Regions from separate parts of the Homo sapiens genome. Here regions 1, 2, 3 and 4 are each linked to region 5. Evidence: promoter capture Hi-C in 16 types of primary human blood cells and fetal thymus (Javierre and others, 2016). All regions are on one chromosome and are shown on one strand. The core of a region is centred on a gene start or on the middle of the fragment in contact, and the rest is flanking DNA. Distances in the headings are between cores, read along the strand shown. Region 1 overlaps NFASC (neurofascin). Region 2 overlaps SLC45A3 (solute carrier family 45 member 3). Region 3 overlaps NFASC (neurofascin). Region 4 has its middle 14 kb from the start of ELK4. Region 5 holds the start of NUAK2 (NUAK family kinase 2).

Region 1 (4,628 bases), core at 220-2,719, 320 kb before region 5:
TTTCAGATTTCCAGGGAGATTCCTTAATTCTTACATTCCAGGAGTCAGTGAGACAATCTATGCTTCCCCTCCCTGACCCTTTTTGTGTTTCTCGGTGTTGATATTTCACATGCTTGGTCCTTCTCTTTGAACTTTTTAGTGCTTCCGGGTCATCATCCTGATCTCTCTGTGGCAATGCCTTCCTCCAGCTCCCACCTCTAAATCATCTTGGCTTCCCACTGCCTGGCCTTTTCTAAAAGAACCCCAATCTTCATTGCCTTTAAAACAGCCAGATTTGAGTCAATTTCATATTGGTGGCCAGACTGTTTAAACACAAATTCTCTAGCTATTTACAGGGCTCAGAGCTGAGGAGGAAGAAACTCAAGTCCCCAAATAATGACTAATCACAATTCATTCTCACCAGCAAGAGCCATGAAATTCTAAGGAGCTGGAATTTGGGATGGCTTCAAGTGGCCAGTACAATTGAAGCGTCTGGCAGACAGGCAAAGAAGCCTACCTTCTCCCCTCCCCACGGTGCCATCAATGGAATCACTTTCTTGGTCCCTCACTTAATATGAATCATATTCACCTGGGGCAACCAACGCCTGACAGAGTTGTAGTGCAGAAGGCACCTCTTTGAAGTGAAAACCAGGAGATCTTTTATCACTTCCCCAGCCCTGCAGGCTCAGTCACATGTCAAATAGATAATGAATAAATGCATCGCCAATGCACTCTATTCATTTATTTTTGACAAGTGAGTTGGTGACAGTGCCCCCTTGCATGCTAATAAAATATACAGCAGCCACACTTGTAAAGTCTTTGAAATACGAGGCTTCATGCAAGTACTCCACTATTAAATCTTTGCTGGAAAATGGGGTAACCAGACTGCTGGGACTCTTGCAAAATGATTACGTTTGAAGATTAGTGCCATTCTCCTCTACACAGGCTATGGTTTCAGACAGCACCATGGCTTTGATAAAGTGGCTCCCAGCTCATAGGAACTTGATAATTAATGTCCTCTGTGTTGCATAGAGATCAGGCATCAAAAACTCGGTGGTGCTGAGACGCCAACAGAACAGGATTCTTCTGGTGTCTGGACCACTGAGGGCTGGTTGTCAAGGAGTTATCTTCTCTTGGTCGCACCTAGTCCACGTGAGGGAGAGGAAGGCTTCACATTGTCTTTACTTGGGCCCCTGAGATTCTAGGCTTTAGACAATCTGAAGCTGTTAGACCTATCAGCCAGGCTTCTCTCTGACCAAGGACAACCCAAGGGGCTCCTTAGACCAGCCTCACCTGTCTGGATCACCATTCTCCTCCAGCTTCAAAAGTCCATCCTTCCTGCAAATCTCATCAAGACTCGCGGCTCTTAAAGATAACCCTCTCCTTCCTGCAGCACTTCTATGCTTGAAGGGGAAGGGGCTGGCACACATCTTCTCTGTGTGGCCTCCTCCTCCTGGCCACACGGCCTTTTTCCTGGCCCCTTTCCTTACACTGTTGACATGACAAGGGATCTGAAAAGGGAATAAGTCCAGGTTAAAGCCTCAAATGGCACAGATCAAAACCCACTCTTTCTACAAAAATTTGCCGGGCATGGTGGCGGGGGCCTGTAATCTCAGCTACTTGGGAGGCTGAGGCAGGAGAATCGCTTGAACCTGGGAAGTGGAGGTTACAGTGAGTCGAGATCGCACCACTGTACTCCAGCTTGGGCAACAGAACAATACTCCATCTCAAAAAAAAAAAAACAGAAAACAAAAAAACTCTTTCATTCCTAACGCTACCTATGTGGACACAGTCAGTTTCCAGCTCTCCCTCCGAAGTCCTCCCGACTGTACCTGCTTGTCCCTGGACAGCGACCTCTGGCCTGGCCACCAAGGCTGCAGCTTGGAGCTCTGTCAGGCCCTGTGCACAGCCATTTCTGACTCTCCCCTTTCCTAGATGACTGTGTGTACATGTGTGCGTGCGCGAGTGTGGGCATGTGCGTGCATGCACACGCTTGTGTGTATGTGTGTGTCTCCATATCTCTGGTGCCACTCCCTCCTCATCACTAACCCCTTTTCTAACCCGTCCACCAGCCCCTGATGAGCAGTCCATATGGAACGTCACGGTGCTCCCCAACAGTAAATGGGCCAACATCACCTGGAAGCACAATTTCGGGCCCGGAACTGACTTTGTGGTTGAGTACATCGACAGTAAGCATTGCTGTGCGGGGTGGTGGTGGCGGCAGCGGCGTCGGCAGCAGCGGCGGGTAGTGGTAGATGCCATTAAAGAGCTCCTGTGAACTCCCCCAGGCTCAGAGAGGCCTTTTAGCCTGGCTTAATTATGGCTTAATGAAATCGATATGCACTCAGGCGGCAGTGAGGTGGGAGGAACAGGCTCAAGGAAAAGGAAGGGGGCTTCTCAAGCCATTAGTGGAAGTCTAGGATTGCATGTCTGTGGAGGACCTGGGTAAAGGGGCCCTTCATTCATTTCCTGCCCAGGATGAGGGTTCTGAATAGCCCCCAAATGAGCCAAATCTGTCCTCTGCATTGATCTCCTTAACTCAGGCTCCACTTGACTGGGTGAGCCAGTTCACAGACTTGGACTATAACCCTGCTTTGCTCCCAGAGGAATGCCAGCGGCCCCCAGTCAGAGCCACAGACCAGAGCCATTTGTCCCAGCTGGTGGCTTGAGCTGAGTTGCTCACCCTTTGCTGGAGCTTGGGACCAAGGGTACAGATTCGTTGGACTGCAGAGTGTGGCCCCTGAGTGAAGGACCCTGTTCCTACAGGGTCAAACCCACCATCCTGGCATCTTCAGTATGTGCTCTAAGCAATTAAGCCAACTAACCCAGCCAGCAAATCCACCTGGGATAGCCTACCCAAAGACCCTCTCAGGAGAGAGCAAAGCTGACTTAGTTCTCTCTGGTTGGAGGAGGAGTTCACATCCACAGCACCTGGACTCCATAGTTTGGTCCATACTTTTTCAGGCTCCTACTACCCCTATTCACCCTACAGCCTACATGCACAGGCACACACTTTTTCTGATGTGGGAATTCACCACATGGTGAGAAATGAGAGGTGAAACTAGGAATGAGAGCCAAGAGACAGAGTCCCAGCTCATCTCTGGTTTTCAGGAGGGATGCTAACTGGCTTTTGGCCCTCACCAGCCAGATCCATGTGAAAAGTTAATCGCTTCCAGGGCAACAGAGCATCTGCTGACAAGCTGAGAGTTTAAGGAAGTAGGTTATAATATGTCTAGTGTGAAGACTGTGGTGAGGAAAGCGAACTTCAGGAGAGGGAACGGTGTCCCCAGCTGAAGGGTCGTTTAAAAGCGTTAGTATTGCACAGACAGGCATAGGGAAGCTGCCTGGAAACCTCCTGGTCTGTATGGTGGACTGGACCCGCGGTTCCCTGGTCCCTTCCCCCACACTTTCTACCTTTGACAGGTGACCAGGACCTAAGCACTGGCTCTCCAGCTCCTGGTGCCTGGCTCTAGGCTGATTGAGGTTTCTGTTCCCCAGGCAACCATACGAAAAAAACTGTCCCAGTTAAGGCCCAGGCTCAGCCTATACAGCTGACAGACCTCTATCCCGGGATGACATACACGTTGCGGGTTTATTCCCGGGACAACGAGGGCATCAGCAGTACCGTCATCACCTTTATGACCAGTACAGGTGAGAGGGGACCTGGCCTGGCCATCCCCTGCAAGCATGGGGCATTTCATTCTCATCCTCAGCTTCCTGCTTGCCTCTCTCCTCGGAAAGAAGACTCATCCCCCACCCCATTTCCCACCTTGCATGGCGTGTCTCAGCTCTTATTATGTATCAGCTGAAGGCTCCCAGGAAGCCTAGAGGAGCCCAGTGTGCATGCGTAGTGGAGAGGAAACAGTGATTGTGGCCCCGTGCGGGTCAGAAGGAAACAAAGGATGTTTAATGACAACAGAGAACACTTAGCCCCCTGCTCTGCCTGGTGTGTGTGCACATTTGGTCACTGTCTGTGGGTCTGGGGGCTGCAGGAGAGTAGTGCAGCCTGGCCTGTGCGCACAGGGGCTGGCTCCCTTCATGCAGGATCAGGGGATAGGGCCAGCGCAGGGCCTTGATCTAGAAATCGCTCCAGGAGATCAGTGCATTTGTTACTCCCTTGCCACCATCATCTATTGTTAAAAATTTCAAAGTGAGTGACACAACTTGTTTGGGGCTTTGTTTTTGTCCCAAATTTGTCTTGGCCTAAAAGTAGGTGATTTTTTGTCATGCAGGGAGAGGGGAAGAAGCTCTCCAGAACCGGAAAGGTTCTGGCTCTATAGCGGCTTTAGCTGTGGATGAAGAAACATCTTCCTTGTGCCAAATGAACAGGCCAACTGGGGCTCAGCAAAGGGTACAAGGTTCAGCAATCTCTGTGCTAGTAGGGGTAGCTGGCAGTCTGGATACTTACAGGGCACTCCCTGGTCTGAGTGAGTGTAGCTTTAAACTCAGCCGAGCAGGCTGCCAAGTGGCCGGTATGCTAAGCCCTGGGGCTAAGGGTAAGGGTGGGGAAAGAGATTAAGAGAGAAAAGGATCAGTACCTTGCCCCCAGGGGATATCCTAATCAGATGCAGGTCATTAGATACACAGCATAGCGGAGGGGAAAAAACACACAGTGATTTACATGAACTTCTGAATGTTGACTTAAATAT
Region 2 (4,533 bases), core at 1,172-3,671, 340 kb after region 5:
CCACACCCATGAGAAGCCGTGTATGCAGATGGGGTCCATCCCCACTTTCCTGACAGAGAAGTCGGGGCCAGGATGGAGAGGCACCAGCCCAGACACAGCCCCGAGTGTCGTCTCTGGTGGGCGGCTCCCACACCAGCCTCTGCTGGCTGCCAAGGCCTTACCTTCATCATAGTGTCTCCGGGCCTCGGTGCCCGGCTCAGCTCTGGGCACGCCCTGGTACAGCCCCTCGCCCACGAAATCCGTGTAAAACAGCGTGAAGGTCATGAGTGCCATCCAGCTGCACAGCTCAGCCACGAAGAGCCGGCGCAGGGTGCGGGGCATGCGGCAGCACAGCTGGTGCAGCCGGGGAAGCAGGGCGCCCAGGTTCCGGAAAGCCAAGCGGGCCCGGCATGGACAGCAGTGGGGCGACAAGGAGGGGGCCGACAGCCCTTCTGCTGGCTCGGTGGGGCCCAGCGCTGCCTCCTCAGCCACCAGCAGTGTGGCTGCTACGCAGGTGAGGAAGATGAGGGTGAGCAGGCCAAAGAGGCACTCCTCCTGGGTGCCCAGGTAGGGGGCCAGGGCACTGGTGTCCCAGTCAATGGCAGGCAGGAGGTAGCCCAGGCAGCCCCCAAGACTGATCATGAAGGCATAGACAGAGTAGGCCTGGCGACAGTGGTCCGGGTCCCGGAAGAGGTCAGAGAGCAGGGCCTCCAGTGGAGTGAAGCACACCTGGCCACAGAAGTCCAGCAGCCCCACGCCCAGGATGAGCAGTGCCAGCTCCAGGGGCCTGGGATCCGGGCACAGCAGCCCTGCTAGCCAGCCGGCCCTTGGGATGAGAAAGAGGCTCAGCAGGATGCCCAAGGACAGTGCCCAGATGAAGGGCCGGCGGCGGCCATAGCGTCCACGCCAGTGGTCACTGGCTGAGCCTAGGAGCGGGACACAGACCAGGCCCAGCACTGGACCAATGCCTGCAAGAAGGGAAGTAGTATGAGTCAATGGCTGGGACAAGTAAAGGGCAAGGGGAAGGGGAACCAAGCTCCGTGAGAAGGATGGAAATAACATTCCGTACTCGACACTGTGCTACGTCTTCACAGGGATGCTGTAATTTACTCCTCATAACACAGGCATTACAGATGCCCCCATTTTCAGATGGACAAACTGAGGCATGGAGCAACTAAGAAGTGATACTTATTCAAAGGCGCAGACCTAGGGAGGGTAAGAGGCAGCGTTTCAACAAGCAGTGTGACTCCAGAGCCTGCAATCCTCACAGGGGCCCCTCTTCCTGGGGGTGAGGGGTTGTCACACAATGGTTACTACTTGCCTTCTGTGGCTTTTGTAGAATTTATCTGCAGAGTCAGGAGTCCACCCCTTGTCCTAGGGGTAGGAGCAAGCTCCGGCTGGGAGACCTTGATGGAGTCCCAGCTCTACTGTTCAGCTGCTATTTGGCTTTGGCTAAGACTTACCTAACCTCTTAAAAGCCTCTGCTTCCTTCTCTGTAAAATGGATCACCTCAAATGGTGGTTGTAAGCATTAAATGAGATAATCGCTATAAATTATAAAAGGGCTAGCCAAAGGTTAGGAGCATTTCTCCAGTGTCTCCTATGAGCCAGGCTCTGTGCAGGACCAGGGATCCAGAGGTGACTGGGGTATGTCCTTGGTATTCTCTTCTTTCTCTTGGTGTGCCCCCTCAGCCCAGGGTCACCCTCCTGCCCAGCAATGCCTTCCCAGCAGACCACCTCTCCCTCCAAGCAGCTCCCAGGGCAGAGGTACTCCTGTCCCACATGCCAGGTGGCATGTATCTGGAACAGGAAGGAAGGAGGATGTAGTGACTCACCCAGCACCATGGTCATGAACTTCTCCTCTACCCCCACTTCCAGCAGCAGAGGCGGCACATAGGTGATGCCTGCGGCCAAACACACCTCCAGGCCAAAGGTTAGCAGGTTGACCAGCAAGAGCTGGGCTTTCCGGTGCCGCAGCAGGCGGCTCACCCACAGCCTCTGGACCATAGTGGGCCAGGCGGGTAGGGCTCAGGGGGCCGTTCAGGCACTCCAGAACTGCTTCGTCTCGGCTCTGCTCCAGAAGCTGCGGCCTCTCCTCCTTGCTGCCGCCAACTGCCTAGGAATCAGCCAGGCGCCCATTTCTGCCAGCCCTTTGGTGCCGGTCCAGCTTCTCAGCCCATGCTCAACACCTGCTGCTGTGGGGCACCTCAGTGGGGACACGTCTCATCACTCAGATCCTAGAAGGGCGGGGCAATCACAAGCACACGGGGTGTTAAGTCCTGGGAGCCAGGTCTCCACGATTTGCTCTAAATTGTCTGGATCCTGATCATTCACAGGCTGGCGACTGGCCCTGTCACCGAGGTGCCACCCCCTTCTGCCCAGTCAGGAAATGCATGTTAATATTAGCCTACGGCTGACATAATTAATAAGGTAAATATGATTTTTTAAACCTCAGCACACTCCAGAGCCAAACAGATGTTGGTTATTCTCTGTTTTGAAAAATCTACAATTTCCCTTCCCTGTTAGTATTGGGGAGCGGGAGGGAGCAATCAAACCAACTGAATTTTTAGTTGCCCAGCTATCAAGGTGCCCCTGGAGACCCTCTGCCAGGCCTGGTTTGTTTGCTTTTGTCTTTCTACTCCCCAAACCTGGGGTGTTCAATTCCCCTTTGTTAAGAGTAACACTTCCTATTCTGCATTGCTTGGCCATGAGCCACACTGCACCACAACCCCTAACCCCAAAGACCAGGATGAAGGGGAAAGGGAGGAGAGGCTGTTTTGTTGGGTTGGGTTTTAACTTACAGAAGGCTCCCTGGGGTGAGCCTAGGCCTGAAAATCTCTCCCTTGAGTTTCTCCCTGAGTTCAACGTTCAAGGGGAAGAAACAATCCCTCACATGGCCGTCCAACTGTCATGGGAGAGTGGAGCCGTCCCCAGGTTCTAGCTCACAGGGGCATGAAACCACACCACCTGGCAATACCTGTAATGATACCAGTGACTCCCCCAAGCTGACAGGATGCCCAGCCACTTCCAGGGCAGCCTTTCTGTGCTCTTAAATGGCAGAGAAAGGAATTTTTCGGTGCTCTTTTCAATTTTCAGCAGAGAAGTCCCACACCCCTTCCTGCTAGCCCTGCCTCCTGTGCAGAAAGAACCATCCTGTACCTCCCCCGCCAAGCAAGCGGTCTCCAAGTCTTGCTTCCCGACAATACAGCCATTGCAGTATCTAAGCCTCTGCTTAGAAGTGACTATGAAAAGCTGGGTGCGGTGGCTCATGCTTGTAATCCCAGGACTTTGGGAGGCCAAGGCAGGCGGATCACTTGAGGTCAGGAGTTCAAGACCAGCCTGGCCAACATGGTGAAACCCCATCTCTGCTAAAAATACAAAAATTAGCCAGGCATGGTGGCAGGTGCCTCCACCACCCCCAGCCCCTACTCATGCCCTCTGCCAATCTCAGCACCTCATTATAAAAGGCATTTCAACTTATCTTATCTTTTCACACAATACTAAACCCCATGGGGCCTTGCATATTACAAAGCGTGTTGTGGGTGCTCTGAGCTGTGCCACAGAGAAATCAGCCAGGACTGAGTGTGGTGGCTCATGCCTATAATCCCAGAACTTCAAGAGGCCAAGGCAGGAGGATCACTTCAGCCTGGGAGTTTGAGACCAGCCTGGGCAACACAGCGAGACCCCCTCTCTACAAAAAATTTAAAAATTATCCAGGCGTGGTAGTATGCACCTGTGGTCCCAGCTACTTAAGAGGCTGAGATGGGAGGATTGCTTGAGCCTGGGAGGTCAAGGGTGCAGCGCGCAGTGATTGGACCACTGCCTCCAGTCTGGGTGACAGAGGGAGACACTGCCTAAAAAAACATCAGATGGCTATCAGTCCTGGGTAAGGTCTGTTCACTCCACCACCACCTTCAGGGGCTTTGCAGCTGGCAGATCATGAAGGAAGGGAATTGAGATAAGGCTGGGCAACCAGCAGCCTCCTCCCCTAAATCCTGCTCAGACTCACCCTTTGGGATGGGGCACACGGCCTCCTACGGAGGTGGCATGAGAAGGGGTGTAAAATACTGACCCATACTGTCTCCAAAAGGAAGGTGGAAGGCCAGACCTCAGTCTTAGCTGAGCTGTCATAGGTTCAACTTGAGCATCTCATTGCTGCATTTCCACAGTACCCCCAAGAAGGAAAGCAGGAGACAGCACAGAGACCAAGAGGCAGTGCTATCCAGCCTAAAGGGAGGGGTTCTGCGGCCAAAGGCTTCCAGCCCATTCCACTCCCCACCCTTGTTCTGGGAGGGCCCTGAATGCTAACCTGCTCTGGGTTTTCAGGAGACCAGGTCCTCCCTGAGCAAACAGAGACTTTGTTAGACCCAGCCTCGCCTATAACCTGCACCCATTCTCTAAGTCCTGGCTGCTCCCTATTGTTTAAAATAAATTGCAGGCCAGGCACAGTGGCTCACATCTGTAATCTCAGCACTTTGGGAGGCTGGAGTGGGATGATGGCTTGAGGGCAGGAGCTTAAGAACAGCCTGGGCAACATAGAAAGACCCTGTTTCTA
Region 3 (4,544 bases), core at 1,971-4,470, 360 kb before region 5:
CGCTGCTAGCTTGAGAATTTGAACCTTGGGGAGTACCTGAAGGTTTGTGTTCCTTCTGCTGGTCCCACAGCCGGTGAGATCTTTTGTGGCGTGAACAGGAAAGAGAAAAGTGTGGTCATAGAACATGGACATGGTGGGCAGGCAGGTCTGCATCTAAAATCCTGCTCTCCTCTCTGCCTTTGCAATGCTGGACACATTACATCCTCTGCTTTCTGATCTGTAAAATGGGAATAAGCCATACTTCAGAGTTGAGAGGATTAGACCAAGTAATGTCAAGCTCCTGGTCGCCACCTGACCCTCTGTAAAGTGTTCTGTCGCCAGGACTGCGGTGGTGATGATTACTGTTATTACTACTAACCTGCTGCCGTACCTCTGCTTTCTTATAGCCATGGAGCCCATCACCCAAGACAAACGTGTCTCTCAGGGCCATAACGGAGACCTATACTTCTCCAACGTGATGCTGCAGGACATGCAGACCGACTACAGTTGTAACGCCCGCTTCCACTTCACCCACACCATCCAGCAGAAGAACCCTTTCACCCTCAAGGTCCTCACCAGTAAGTGAAGGCCCCTGTCCCGGGGCTGGGGGCCAAAGAAAGAAGCCCACTGATCCCACCCAGCCCTAGGTACCTGAGTCTATAGGGGGAGACTTGTCCTTGAGGCTGACCTAGAAATCCTTCCAGCTCATGGTGCCTGAGCCACTTCAGCTGCTCTTAAACGATCTCTCTTGATTGTGAAACCTTGAGTTAAACTTGGTCCTACTCTAAGTCAATCCTCCTCAAATTCTGGTGGGAATCAGAATCACCTTAGAACCTGGCAGCGTACCCAGAACCAGCCTATCGTACCTCAACAGCCCTGAGCCTCTTTGTTCTTTATGAGCCCTCCAGGTAATTCAAGTGCACCCCAGAGTTTGAGAACCACTGCTTCCAGTGGTCATCTAGAACCCCTCTCCGGACACAGCTTGATTATTTCTTTTATTTCTTCTCATTGCTTGGTTATCTTTATTTGTATAAGAAACCCATAGCAGAAAATATGAAAATTAGTGGAGACACCAAAATAAATTTTATTTGATTCTGTAATATGTATATGCTGAACCATATGGAATCGCTATGTTTGTAAGTTGCAGGCTTATGTTTGAGTTTTATTTGTTTTCGTTTCTATTCCCTGATTCTGTTTGGCTGGTACAAAAGCAAATCAGCATTTCCCGACCCATTATAGTGTTGGTGGCTCTCCCTTGAGGAGAGAGAGAAGCTTAGTCAGAAATGTTCTTCTTGGCAAGGACGAGGCAGCCTAGAGCTTTTGCTGCAAAGTCTCAGCCCACTCAGGACGTTGGAAGTTGTCTATGTTGATGTACACCATGGATTTGTAACACGCCTTCCATAAAGGAGCCCCCCAAAAAACAGACCTTAGTCTGACTCATGCTGTGAGTGTTGTTTCTGATGCTCTGGACAGTGAGGATTGTTGGGGAGGCCAGTAGAGAGCACCATGTGGGTGCTGGCAGTTTGCAAAGGTCAGAAAAAATAGGCTGACCCTGGCTTCCTGGAGCCCCTGCAGAGGTGGTGAACAATGGCTCCCCGGGTGGGTGTGGGTCAGGAGAGGTTCAGGTGAGATCACTTCTCATTCAGGACAGGTAGGGGGTGTGACCATTATCGTTCTCTTCCTTCCTCCCTATCCCTGCTGATGGCAGAGGCTGGTGGTCCTGAGAGCCAACACAGCCCCATGCTCCATTTCCACCATGGCACAGAGGTGGATCCAAAAGGAAGCAGCTTCCTTTTCTCTTCCCCTTCTCATGTTTTTTTTTTTCTTTCACCTTTTCATTTTCTTCCTTTTTCTTTTTCACTTCCTTCTTTATTTCTCCTCCCTCTTTCTTTTTCTTTCTTCTTTTCCATCTCTCTGTTCTGTCTTGGAACTCCATTCTGCCCTCCTCTAATCATCGCCTCCTGCCTTGCAGTGTCCCCACACACTGATCTGTGTTGGTGCTGGGCTGCCAAAGGTGGTAGCCGGCAGGTTGCCTGACACCTGCAGCAAGCCCCTCGAGTTCCTGGCAGGGTGACCTGGCTTCACTCCAGTTGCTCCCCCGTCCCTGACTTTCTCATTCCTGACCCAAGCCCAGGGAGACCCCTTGGAGGAGAAAGTTGGTTTGTCTGCAGTGTCTCCTCAGTCCACATCAGGGTGACTGCCTGCCAGCTGGCTGGGCTGGGAAGGACAGTGTAGTCTGCCCAGGACCTCGGAGTGGCCTCAGCAGCCAGGACAGGACTAACAGCATTGGCAGGGGGAGGAGCAGGGATGTCAAGAACAAGATAACATGCTCGCTGAGCTGAGCCTGGACAGCCATCAGCATCACCACCAGGGCCCCTCTCTCCTTGCCCAGACGACGCTAGAAATCGGCCTGCTGCTTTTGGAACTGAGTCAGTTGACCTTCTGTCATCCTGGGCAGAGCCCATCACTGTCACACAGAGTAGAGCAGAGGCCAAGAGACTGAGGTGGTGAAGAGTCTTCCTCTGTAGAATTAACTAACTTCCTCTGCAGTTAGAGATTTAAACAACATGTAGAACTTGGACTTTCCAGAAACACTCTTCTCTACCAGAAGAAGTAAGGGATGTTTGTTAATTCTTCATTTCTAGGTCCTCTATTCCACTGAAAACTCTTTCCTCCGAATGGCGAGAGACCCCCTAGGTGATTGGAACAGAGCCCCATCAGCTTCCTGGAGTTCTCCCAGGGGCAGCTCTGGCTGGGAGCAAGTTCTGGGCATCTGAGCCAGCCCAGAATTGGGCACACTTGCTTAAAATAGCACAGTGGTGCTCTCTCTACTTTCCTGTCTGGAGAGGACACAGGCTTTCTCTTGTACCTTCAGAACCAGGTCTGGGGTGGGAGGCAAAGCAGTCAGGCAGGGGCAGCTTCAAAGGCCCTATTCTCACCAGGCACTCCTGTCACAGTTTGCCCATTTGGGAAGAAATAAATCTCATCATGTCCCATTTTTATTACCTGCATTGAAGGAAGTTGACAATGGTATGTAATGCAAAATACTGGGTAATCTGAAATCATTTTTAAAACCTGGGATGCAGTCAAAGATAAGCAGTGGAGTTGGGCTACAGAGCTGGGCCCGTCCCACTCTGCCTATGCTGTAACAGGTGCTGGGTGCCTCCTGATGCAATAAGAGGCAACTGTGGTAAGCGAGGAGGGTCCTCCCTAAGGCAGACACCAGGGCACACCCCTTCTTCCTCCAGTGTCTAAGTGACATTCTTGGAGCAGTCAAAGAAGTTTCCGTGAATTTCTCACATGTGCTCCAGAATTCACAAACCACGAGGTCAGTTCTGGGCGTGGGCTACTTCTCTGGAGAGAGATAGGTTACATTTCACCTGGTGATATGGGAGCATGAAGGAAGGGCCCTGTCATCTGTATGTGCCACCATCCACCCCCAGGAGAGGAACAGAGTTGCCTCCCAAGCCCAGCTGCAGCCCCCACCTGCCCTTGGGCCACCCCATCTCTTCGTTACATTGTGGATTTATTCCTGCCTTTAGCTCCAGATGGACCCAAGCAGACTTCCCAAACAGGCTGGGTCTTTACAACAAACCCCATCTTAAGAGAGAGTTCTGAATAATGAAAATCTTCCTACCAGGTGGCAAGCAGATTTGGGATGCAATGCAATGCCAGTCCCAGAAAAGGACTCTCATACTTCTTGCAACTAGTTGTAATGGGATTGGATCTGTCGACAAATATGCAAATGTTTTGGCAGAGCCCCTGTTGTCCCTCGAGCAGTTGGACCATGTTCTTGCCTCCTCAGGGCCATCTGCTTGGCTTCCAGTCAGCTGTATACCCCACCCCCTTTTAGTACTGTCACAATTTGAACCCAGTTGCTGGAAGGGACCAGAGGTAGAGAGGGAAAAGCTCCTTCAGGACGCTGGCGTGATGATGTGTCCTCTTCTGAAATGTCTTTCTCATTAAGGAGTAAATGCCCACGAGTTTGAATTACCTAACATTGGAACTGAAGCCACTGATCTTGCTCCATAAGGAATGTCTTCAATCCTGCATAGTCTAGAGAGCTTCGAACCTCCAGAACGTTCAGGAGGACTTTCCTAGTCTGAAATGTAGAACTCACAGCTTGCACTTTCTCCTGTCCCAAGCTCCAATTCTAAATTCTAAAGCCTGAACCTCAGGGATGTTCTCCCCACCTCACTGAACCTCTCCCGGCATCCTCACAAGGAGGGCTTTCTGCCAACAGAGACATCTCCAAGATCATAGTGGTGCCCACCTGGGCAGACTCCAGTGACACATGTTGCTGGGTGTGGCCAGGGCCCCTTGGCCCAACTCTTTTGGTCAATGACCTCCTCCCATTTACCACCAACCTCCTGCAGCTTAGCTTCTGCCCAGGCAGCACTTTGCTCTTCCCCGGAGCTCACTAACACTCCTTTCTCTTTAGCTGCTCCAAGAGCTAGCCTGACCCAGAGTCCTGGGAACTGAGGATTTTGATAAGAAGGAGTTGTTCAAAAGATGGCTACAGGACACCACTAATCCTTCTCTCATTTGTTTGAAAATATAGCAGG
Region 4 (4,072 bases), core at 1,031-3,530, 320 kb after region 5:
AAATTTTAAGCCAAGCGCGGTGGCTCACGCCTATAATCCCAGCACTTTGGGAGGCCAAGGCAGGCAGATCACTTCAGGTCAGGAGTTCGAGACAAGCCTGAACAACTTGGTGAAACCCCATCTCTACTAAAAATACAAAAATTAGCTGGGCATGGTGGTACATGCCTGTAATTCCAGCTATTCGGGAGGCTGAGGCCGGAGAATGGCTTGAACCCAGGAGGCAGAGATTGCAGTGAGCCCAGATCACACCACTGCATTCCAGCCTGGGTGACAGAGTGAAAACTCTGTCTCAAAAAAATAAAAGAAGAAAAAGAAAATTTAAAAGGATTTTTAGGAAAATATTACTTATAAAATTACTAGATATTCATAAATTAAATAAAATTATTCTTTTTATAGCACACTGAAACAAAAGCCACAAACTCATCTGAAAAACTGTGAAACCACTCATCATTCATAGAGTATTACTAAACTGAATCTAAAGGTCAAAAAAAAGTACTGCAGTAAACCACATGATACGCAAAAGTAAAACACAACTTTTATCTTAGGCCCAGCCACCTGATATTAGAAGCTGGAGCGTTAAGCTGAGGTTGTCCACTTGCCCAAAAGAAATACAGTTTTCATTTGCCCATTCATTTTGTTTGCCCAATAATTCATTTAAACAAACAAGCAAATGTAATGAGCACCTACTATGTGTAAACACAGAGCTAGAGTGGGGGCAACACAACAATGAATAAGATGCAGCTTTTCCCTGGAAGATCTTGGTGGAGGACCAGATTGCAAATTCTTGCCTGGGCTTCAGAAATCAATTTAGTATCATGGCTGGGCGTAGTGGCTCACACCTGTAATCCTAGCACTTCGGGAGGCCGAGGTGGGCAGATCACCTGAGGTCAGAAGTTTGAGACCAGTCTGGCCAACATGGTGAAACCCCATCTCTACTAAAAAAAATACAAAAATTAGCCAGGCGTGGTGGCACGTGCCTATAATCCCAGGTACTGGGGAGGCTGAGGCAGGAGAAATGCTTCAACCTGGGGTGGGGAGCTGAGGTTGCAGTGAGCTGAGATAGAGTCACTTCACTCCAGCCTGAGCGAAAGAGCAAGACTCTGTCTTTAAAAAACAAAAAACAAGCATCGTTTCTCCTAGGAAGCCCTCTCTGATCCCCCAGGGCCCCTCTGAGACTGGGCCCCTCCAGGCACACCCCCATCACAGCACTGTGACACATTCTATAATTGCTTCTGCATATCTCCAGCCCCCTCACTGCTTGGGGACATCCAAGAGGACAAAGACTGCATCTGTCTCTTCACCGTGTCGCAGCCCCAGCACGTGGTAGTTGCTTAATAAATGTGGAAAGACTTAGCAGATGATGAAGTCAAACAAATTTCTGCCCAGTGAACATAAGGACCACAGTAGCAGTATGCTATAAGGAGACTGAGGCAGGAGTGATTAACTTCAGAGGCCATAGAAAGAAATGTTTAAGCTGAGTGTTGGAGAATAAATACAAATTCAGTAGGCAGAGAGCTCTCCATGAAGAGAATGCAGCCAACAGCAAAGGCACTGAGGCTCAACAGAGCAAAGTTTGCTTGAATGGAGGGAAGCAGGTCATCATGGCTGAAGCAGGATTTGAGGGGCTGGGAGAGCTGAGGCGGTGGGCAAAGGGGATAAAGAGGTGTACAAAGCCACACGTGAAGGGGCTTGTTTGTCGCATGCAGAAACGTGAGTCTCCTGAGGGTCCTCCGCCAGCCCAAGCATGAGGTAGTCAGCTCAGTGCTCCGGCCAGATAACCCAGGCTGTAGTACAGGCATGGACCCAGCGGAGGGACAGGCGGGACTGGAGAAAGGAAGAGGGATGGGTTCATGTGTGAGTCCAGAAAGAGATGCTAAGGGCCCAACCATGACAGTAGCAGTGAGGATGGCAATGAGAAAATCAATGTGAGGGATAGGTAGGAGATAAAATCAATAAGACTTAGTGGGTTTTTTTTAATGGCTAATGCATGAAGGCTAGGAAAATATATGTACAATCAATTGAAGTGCTCACATCTTTCAAGAGTTCATTATGTCAAAAACATTCTGCAGCTGTTTCATACAAGGAAATCTTTTTTTTTTTTTTTTGAGTTGGAGTCTTGCTCTGTCACCCAGGCTGAAGTGCAGTGGTGCCATCATAGCTCACTGCAACCTCTGCCTTCCAGGTTCAAGCCATTCTCCTGCTTCAGCCTCCTGAGTAGCTGGGATTATAGGTGCCCGCCACCACCCCAGCTAACTTTTTTTTTTTTTTTTGTAGAGACAGGGTTTCACCATGTTGGCCAGGCTGGTCTTGAACTCCTGACCCCAGGTGATCCACCTGCCTCAGCCTCCCAAAGTGCTGGGATTACAGGCGTGAGCCACTGTGCCCGGCCAGGAAATCATCATTTTTATTCCTATTTTAAAAACAACCTTCTAGTGGTCATTTCTCTCCACTTCCCCCAACTTTGTACCTCAGTACCTATTGGCAGTTATCAAACAGTCTTGTGCTGTTAGAAATAACTTTCCTGGCCAGGCTCGGTGGCTCATGCCTGTAATCCCAAAACTCTGGCAGGCCGAGGCCACAGGATGACTTGAGGCCAGGAGTTTGAGACCAGCCTGGGCAACATAGTGAGACCACATCTCTAATAAATAAAAAAAAGAATAATCATAAAATAAAAATTACCAAAAAAAGGACTTTTCACTTGAACATGTCTTATTTTCCCACAGGGAAAACTGAGAACTCAAAGAGAGCAATGATAGCATTTTAGACATCTTCATACCCACCCCATAGTTGTACGTACCATGGTGCCTTATACCTACCAGGTATCCAGTAAACAGCAATGGCTGGTTGACTGGTTGGTTGGTGTGTATCAGAAGGTGAGGAGACGGGTCAAAAGTCCTCCACTTAAAAAAAAAACACCTTTTTATTTTGGAATATTAGAGTTACAGGACAGCTGCAAAGATAATGCAAAGGTTTCCTATACAGCCTCACCTCCACCTTTGAAAATTGGTGATGGTAGAAGAAAAATAACCCTGAACCAGTGTGCCCTTGGGCAGGTCACACCACCTTAGCAGGCTCCAGTTTTATCACTGAAAGCAAGATAACAGGGTTCGCCTCACTGTCTTAGTCAGCTTGAACTGCTATAACAAAATACCATAGCTGGGCACGGTGGCTCACGCCTGTAATCCCAGCACTTCGGGAGGCCAAGGCGGGTGGATCACGAGGTCAGGAGATCGAGACCATCCTGGCTAACACGGTGAAACCCCGTCACTACTAAAAAAAATACACAAAAAAAATTAGCCGGGCGTGGTGGCGGGCACCTGTAGTCCCAGCTATTCAGGAGGCTGAGGCAGAAGAATGGTGTGAACCCAGTAGGCGGAGCTTGCAGTGAGCTGAGATAGCACCACTGCACTCCAGCCTGGGCGATAGAGCGAGATTCTGTCTAAAAAAAAAAAAGAAAAAAATTCCGTAGACTAGGTGGCTTATAAACAATGGGTATTTATTCCTCACAGTCCTGGGGCCTGGGAAGTCCAAGGTCAAGGCTGTGGCAGATTGAGTGTCTGCTGAGGGCCTGCTTCCTGGCTCATAGAGGCCATCTTCTCGCTGTGTCCTCACATGGCAGAAGGGGCAAGAGAACTCTTTTAAAAGGGCACCAATCCTATTGATGAGGGCTTCCACCCTCATGACCTAATTGCCTCCCAAAGGCTCCACTTCCAATGCCATCACACTGGGGGTTAGGTTTCAGCATAATCTGGGGAGGAGCACAGTCTGTAGCAGCCGCCTCCACACTCTTCACCCATCACTGTAATAAAATCACTGAGAAGAGGTCAGGCAGTGCCGTGTTCTCTGGGTCTAGAGCCTCTCCAGGATCAGGTCCCTCAGCAGGCAGGCAGCTGCTCCCTGTCTGCCTCCTCGGTGCCAAATCTGGGCTGCCAGTGTGTCTTTCATTGCCACAGCCCCAGAACTAACATGAGGCTCAGCATACAGGAAGGTAGACAGATACTACTTGATGGAAAGAAGGAGAGTGCATTAACTAGGGACTGTCAAATACTAAACAGTCAATTGGGGGAGGGGG
Region 5 (3,990 bases), core at 1,150-3,649:
AAATCCACTTAAGTTTGAAAACTGAAAGCTAGTTTATCTCATTCTGGAATCAAATGAGATCTCTCTCTTACTCTCTCTCTCTCATGCACATCCACACACACACCCCACAGTGACCTGGGTCAAGAGCCTGATGGGAACTCTGAACTTCAATCTCAGTTTCTCAGTCTCTGGGCCACCCCAGTCCCCACGACCCAGTGTCTCCACCCCCAAGAGGCACGAAGCACAAGCCACCAGCAGCTATTTTCCAGCTAAGCCCCTGACAAAGCCTGGGTCCAACAGCCTCAAGCCTGGAGCCTCACCGGGCCCTCACACTTTGCAGAAAGAGAAAGAAAAGGCAAGCCAGGAAGTACATGATTGCCCAATAGCTGTAACCTGGCAGCAGGCAACTGGGGACTGTGCCAGGCGATAGCAGGAAAAACATACTCGGTCCTATTGATGGGGCCATAATCTACCCCTTTCTCCAACATCCACTCTCCTTCACCAATGAAATGACTTCTTGAATTTCAAACCAGCTACTGGCTGCAAAAGCAAACACAATCTGGGGAAGTAACTGCTGATGTAGCCAATAGGGCAAACCATACACACACACACACACACACACACACACCCCCTCACAACCAGCACCCAACTGGATTTGGCAAAACATAATAATGCCTAAACCACCTGCTCTAAAAGGCTTGTTAAAATATACATTATATGGCCCTATCCTAGACCTTCAGAATAAATTACTCTGGGTGTGGAACCAGAGAATGTAAGTATTTTAAACAAACATCCCAGGTGATCCTTACGTACTTTAAACTCAAGTTTGAGAACCAGTTAACCACTGCTAACTAACTTTTGACAAATTTGCCATCCTTTCTGGGCTGCCCTTTCCAGAAATTCTCACTGCAAGTTCTTTTTTTGTTTGTTTCGTTTTGTTTTGTTTTGTTTTGTTTTTGAGACGGAGTCTCGCTCTGTTGCCCAGGCTGGAGTGCAGTGGCACGATCTCGGCTCACTGCAAGCTCCGCCTCCTGGGTTCAGGCCATTCTCCTGCCTCAGCCTCCCGAGTAGCTGGGACTACAGGCGTCCGCCACCACGCCCGGCTAATTTTTTGTATTTTTAGTAGAGACGGGGTTTCACTGTGTTAGCCAGGATGGTCTCGATCTCCTGACCTCACGATCCGCCCGCCTCGGCCTCCCACAGTGCTGGGATTACAGGCGTGAGCCACCGCGCCCGGCTATCTCACCGCAAGTTCTATGTGTTAGGAGCAATATAAGTTCATATTTCGATCTTATTCAATCCTCACAGCAGCTTGTGAGGCAGGCTGTGTTTTCTACAGTTCTGCAAAAGGGGAAACAAAGTACAGAGATGAAGGAAATTGCCCAAGGTCACACAGACTGCTAGACTCCTACGCTCGCACCAAAGTAACAGGGCATGTTCTTGAAAAGGCCCCCAAACCGAAAGGTGTCTCTGGTACAGTGGACCTGGTTTCACATTTTCCAGAATCAAAAACTCATCATAATGAAATTTCAACTAAATTTTAGAGCTGGAAAGGACCTAAATGTCAAAACCCACCCCGTGCCAGAGCTCCAGTGTGCTGGGTTGCCAGATTCTTGGAGTTGGGGAAATCCACACCTCATCCATTCATTCAACCACACACATATTTACCAAATACCTATTAAGATGGGGTGCCTTCTACTTCCTCTTTCCATTGCACTCTATTGAACAGTCTTTTCCCAGCAAAACTCAACTTAAGTCCCATCCATCTTATCCCAGGACACGACACGATTCGTTTTTCCGCGCCAACTATCCATAGCCTCCCTTTTATTTGGCAATCATCACAGCAGTACGGTGTTGCTGGCTGGGGTTCGCAAGTTTGCGACCACTGTCCCTGCAATCACGGACTGACACATCTGCCAGGGACACCCCGCAGTAGCCCCGCAAGCTCAGCGCGGTAAAGACCACGCTGGCCTCTCCGCCGAGCAACGAGCGAGCCGCCGCCCGCCCTCCTCCGCTCCCTGCCGGCGGCCAAGCCGGAGCCCGCCCCGCGCCGCGAGAGGGAGCCGCACTCACCAGGCGCCCCGAGCTCTCCCGCGCCTTCTTCACCTTCCCGTAGGTGCCTTTGCCCAGGGTCTCCAGGAACTCGTAGCGGTGCCGCAGGTTGTGCTTGTGGTGGTGCCGCTTCACCGCCTGCTTCTTCATTAGGGGCTTGGGCGACTTGATCAGCCCTTCCGCCAGCGGCCGGGCTAGCTCTGCGGCCGAGGGAGTGGGGCCGGAGCGCCGCGCGAAAACCAGCGACTCCATGGCGAGCAGGAGGTGAGCAAGGGCGGCAGGGGAATCAGTAGGCTGTGCGGGGAGGGCTGAAGCGCGGGGCACAGGTCCCGCACCAGGACGGGGAGCCACAGCAGTACCAGAGCGCGCAGTAAAGCACAGCATTCCAAGTTGTTATAAACGCCCTGAGCCCGAGGCCCTGGACACGCCCCCCGGCGCCCATTGGCCTGCTCGACGGCGGCGCGTGACCACGGCCGTCCACATTGGCTCTCCGGGGCTCCAGGCCCCGCCTCCTCCCCCTCGGCGTGGCCGGGAAAGGTGTCAATGGAACCCGCCCACCAGGAATGGGGACTAGGGGATTCCAGCGAAGGCCGCCTGAGGCCCAGAAGCTTACTCTGAGGGCCCTTGGAGCTGCACTTGCCTCTGAGTGGCGCTTGGTCCTGCTTAATGCCCTGTTGTTTTATTGTACTCTGTTCTCAGTTGGCAAGGGGCGATCTGAGGGCACTAAAGGTCACCAAAGTATTTCTTCATCCTGAGTAATTTGCTTGTCCCAAGCCAAAATCTATAATTGCTTGACCACTTCATTGAGTCCATAAAGGAGAAAGGGAGCTGGGATGGAACAGAGGCAGAATCCAGCCTAGTGGGAGGGTTAGTGCAGAGCTGTCCTATGGTTCGAGTTCACTTGTCTTCAGTTAGATCAACCTTACTTGGATATTGGAATCCAATGGCCCTGGAAACTTCTTCCTTCTTCCTCAAAGAGGGCTTCTTAGGCGAATCGCTTGAGGTCCAGGAGTTCAAGACCAACCTAGCCAACATGACGAAATCCCATCTCCACTAAAGATACAAAATTAGCCGGGCGTGGTGGTGCGCGCTTGTAATCCCAGCTACTCTGGAGGCTGAGGCAGAAGAATCGCTTGAACCCAGGAGGCAGAGGTTTCAGTGAATCAAGATGGCGCCACTGCACTCCAGCCTGGGCAACAAAGTGAGGCTCCGTTTCAAAAAAAAAGAGGGCTTCTAAGGTTTAGTAGATTCCCTCAACCACTTAGTGGAATTTATTTAGGATGTGTCGGCTGGAGGTGGAGAGAACCCGAAGGGATACATATTTATTTAACATTTTTACATGCCGACTATCTAACCTGTGTCCCTAAGTCTGAAAATGGTTGCTCCACCCAAGGTTTTCTTGTGATTTTGGTGCCAGGAGCACTGGTGGTAGGTTATGAGGTTTGACTTGAGACGGAGTCTCCCTCTGTCGCCCAGGCTGGAGTGCAGTGGTGCGATCTCTGCTCACTGCAAGCTCCGCCTCCCGGGTTCACGCCATTCTCCTGCCTCAGCCTCTCCGAGTAGCTGGGACTACAGGCGCCCGCCACCACGCCCGGCTAATTTTTTGTATTTTTAGTAGAGACAGGGTTTCACCATGGTCTTGATCTCCTGACCTCGTGATCCGCCCGCCTCGGCCTCCCAAAGTACTGGGATTACAAGCGTGAGCCACTGCGCCCAGCTTGACTTAGTTTTTGAGGCCTGGAGTTGCTAGGTCCAGAATCTCCACTCTGAGTGCTCATTTACAGTGAAATGAGAATGGCCATAGGTTTTCCTTCTTGCTTTAAATGGCAGAAAGGGAACATTTCCCCTTTGGCCATCTTGATAACCTAATCCTGTGAAATGAGTATTATTCTGTCCAAGGCCACACAACTGGTAATAAAGTGGCGGGATTTAGACCCTGGTCCTGAGGAAGAGAATAGA

Evidence for each region. The method cuts DNA at HindIII sites, captures the fragments that hold promoters and counts their contacts. A CHiCAGO score of 5 or more calls a contact.
Region 1: a fragment that was not itself captured here is called in contact with the fragment with the promoter of NUAK2 in region 5 in 1 of 17 cell types (neutrophils); the score reaches 5.3 in neutrophils.
Region 2: a contact is called between a fragment that was not itself captured here and the fragment with the promoter of NUAK2 in region 5, in 1 of 17 cell types (total B cells). The highest score is 5.1, in total B cells.
Region 3: a contact is called between a fragment that was not itself captured here and the fragment with the promoter of NUAK2 in region 5, in 1 of 17 cell types (neutrophils). The highest score is 6.0, in neutrophils.
Region 4: a contact is called between a fragment that was not itself captured here and the fragment with the promoter of NUAK2 in region 5, in 1 of 17 cell types (naive B cells). The highest score is 5.3, in naive B cells.

What each region holds. Positions count from the first base shown.
Region 1 is chr1:204,999,119-205,003,746 of GRCh38, forward strand. It overlaps NFASC (neurofascin), which reads left to right. Exons shown (of 30, transcript NM_001005388.3): 26 at 2,052-2,168; 27 at 3,478-3,630. Among named protein-coding and RNA genes, the nearest start is that of CNTN2, 42 kb to the right of the region's middle. The HindIII fragment of the contact is 8,859 bases long and covers 1-4,628 here.
Region 2 is chr1:205,662,672-205,667,204 of GRCh38, forward strand. SLC45A3 (solute carrier family 45 member 3) reads right to left here. Exons shown (of 5, transcript NM_033102.3): 2 at 1,814-2,215; 3 at 162-947. The coding sequence starts at 1,985. Among named protein-coding and RNA genes, the nearest start is that of SLC45A3, 16 kb to the right of the region's middle. RefSeq lists enhancers at 1-424, 1,334-2,533. The HindIII fragment of the contact is 6,723 bases long and covers 1-4,533 here.
Region 3 is chr1:204,957,270-204,961,813 of GRCh38, forward strand. It overlaps NFASC (neurofascin), which reads left to right. Exons shown (of 30, transcript NM_001005388.3): 8 at 387-557. Among named protein-coding and RNA genes, the nearest start is that of CNTN2, 84 kb to the right of the region's middle. The HindIII fragment of the contact is 3,943 bases long and covers 1,250-4,544 here.
Region 4 is chr1:205,643,906-205,647,977 of GRCh38, forward strand. No RefSeq gene overlaps it. Among named protein-coding and RNA genes, the nearest start is that of ELK4, 14 kb to the left of the region's middle. The HindIII fragment of the contact is 8,490 bases long and covers 1-4,072 here.
Region 5 is chr1:205,319,346-205,323,335 of GRCh38, forward strand. It overlaps NUAK2 (NUAK family kinase 2), which reads right to left and starts at 2,400. Exons shown (of 7, transcript NM_030952.3): 1 at 2,053-2,400. The coding sequence starts at 2,283. RefSeq lists a silencer at 1,907-2,086. The HindIII fragment of the contact is 5,000 bases long and covers 1-2,637 here.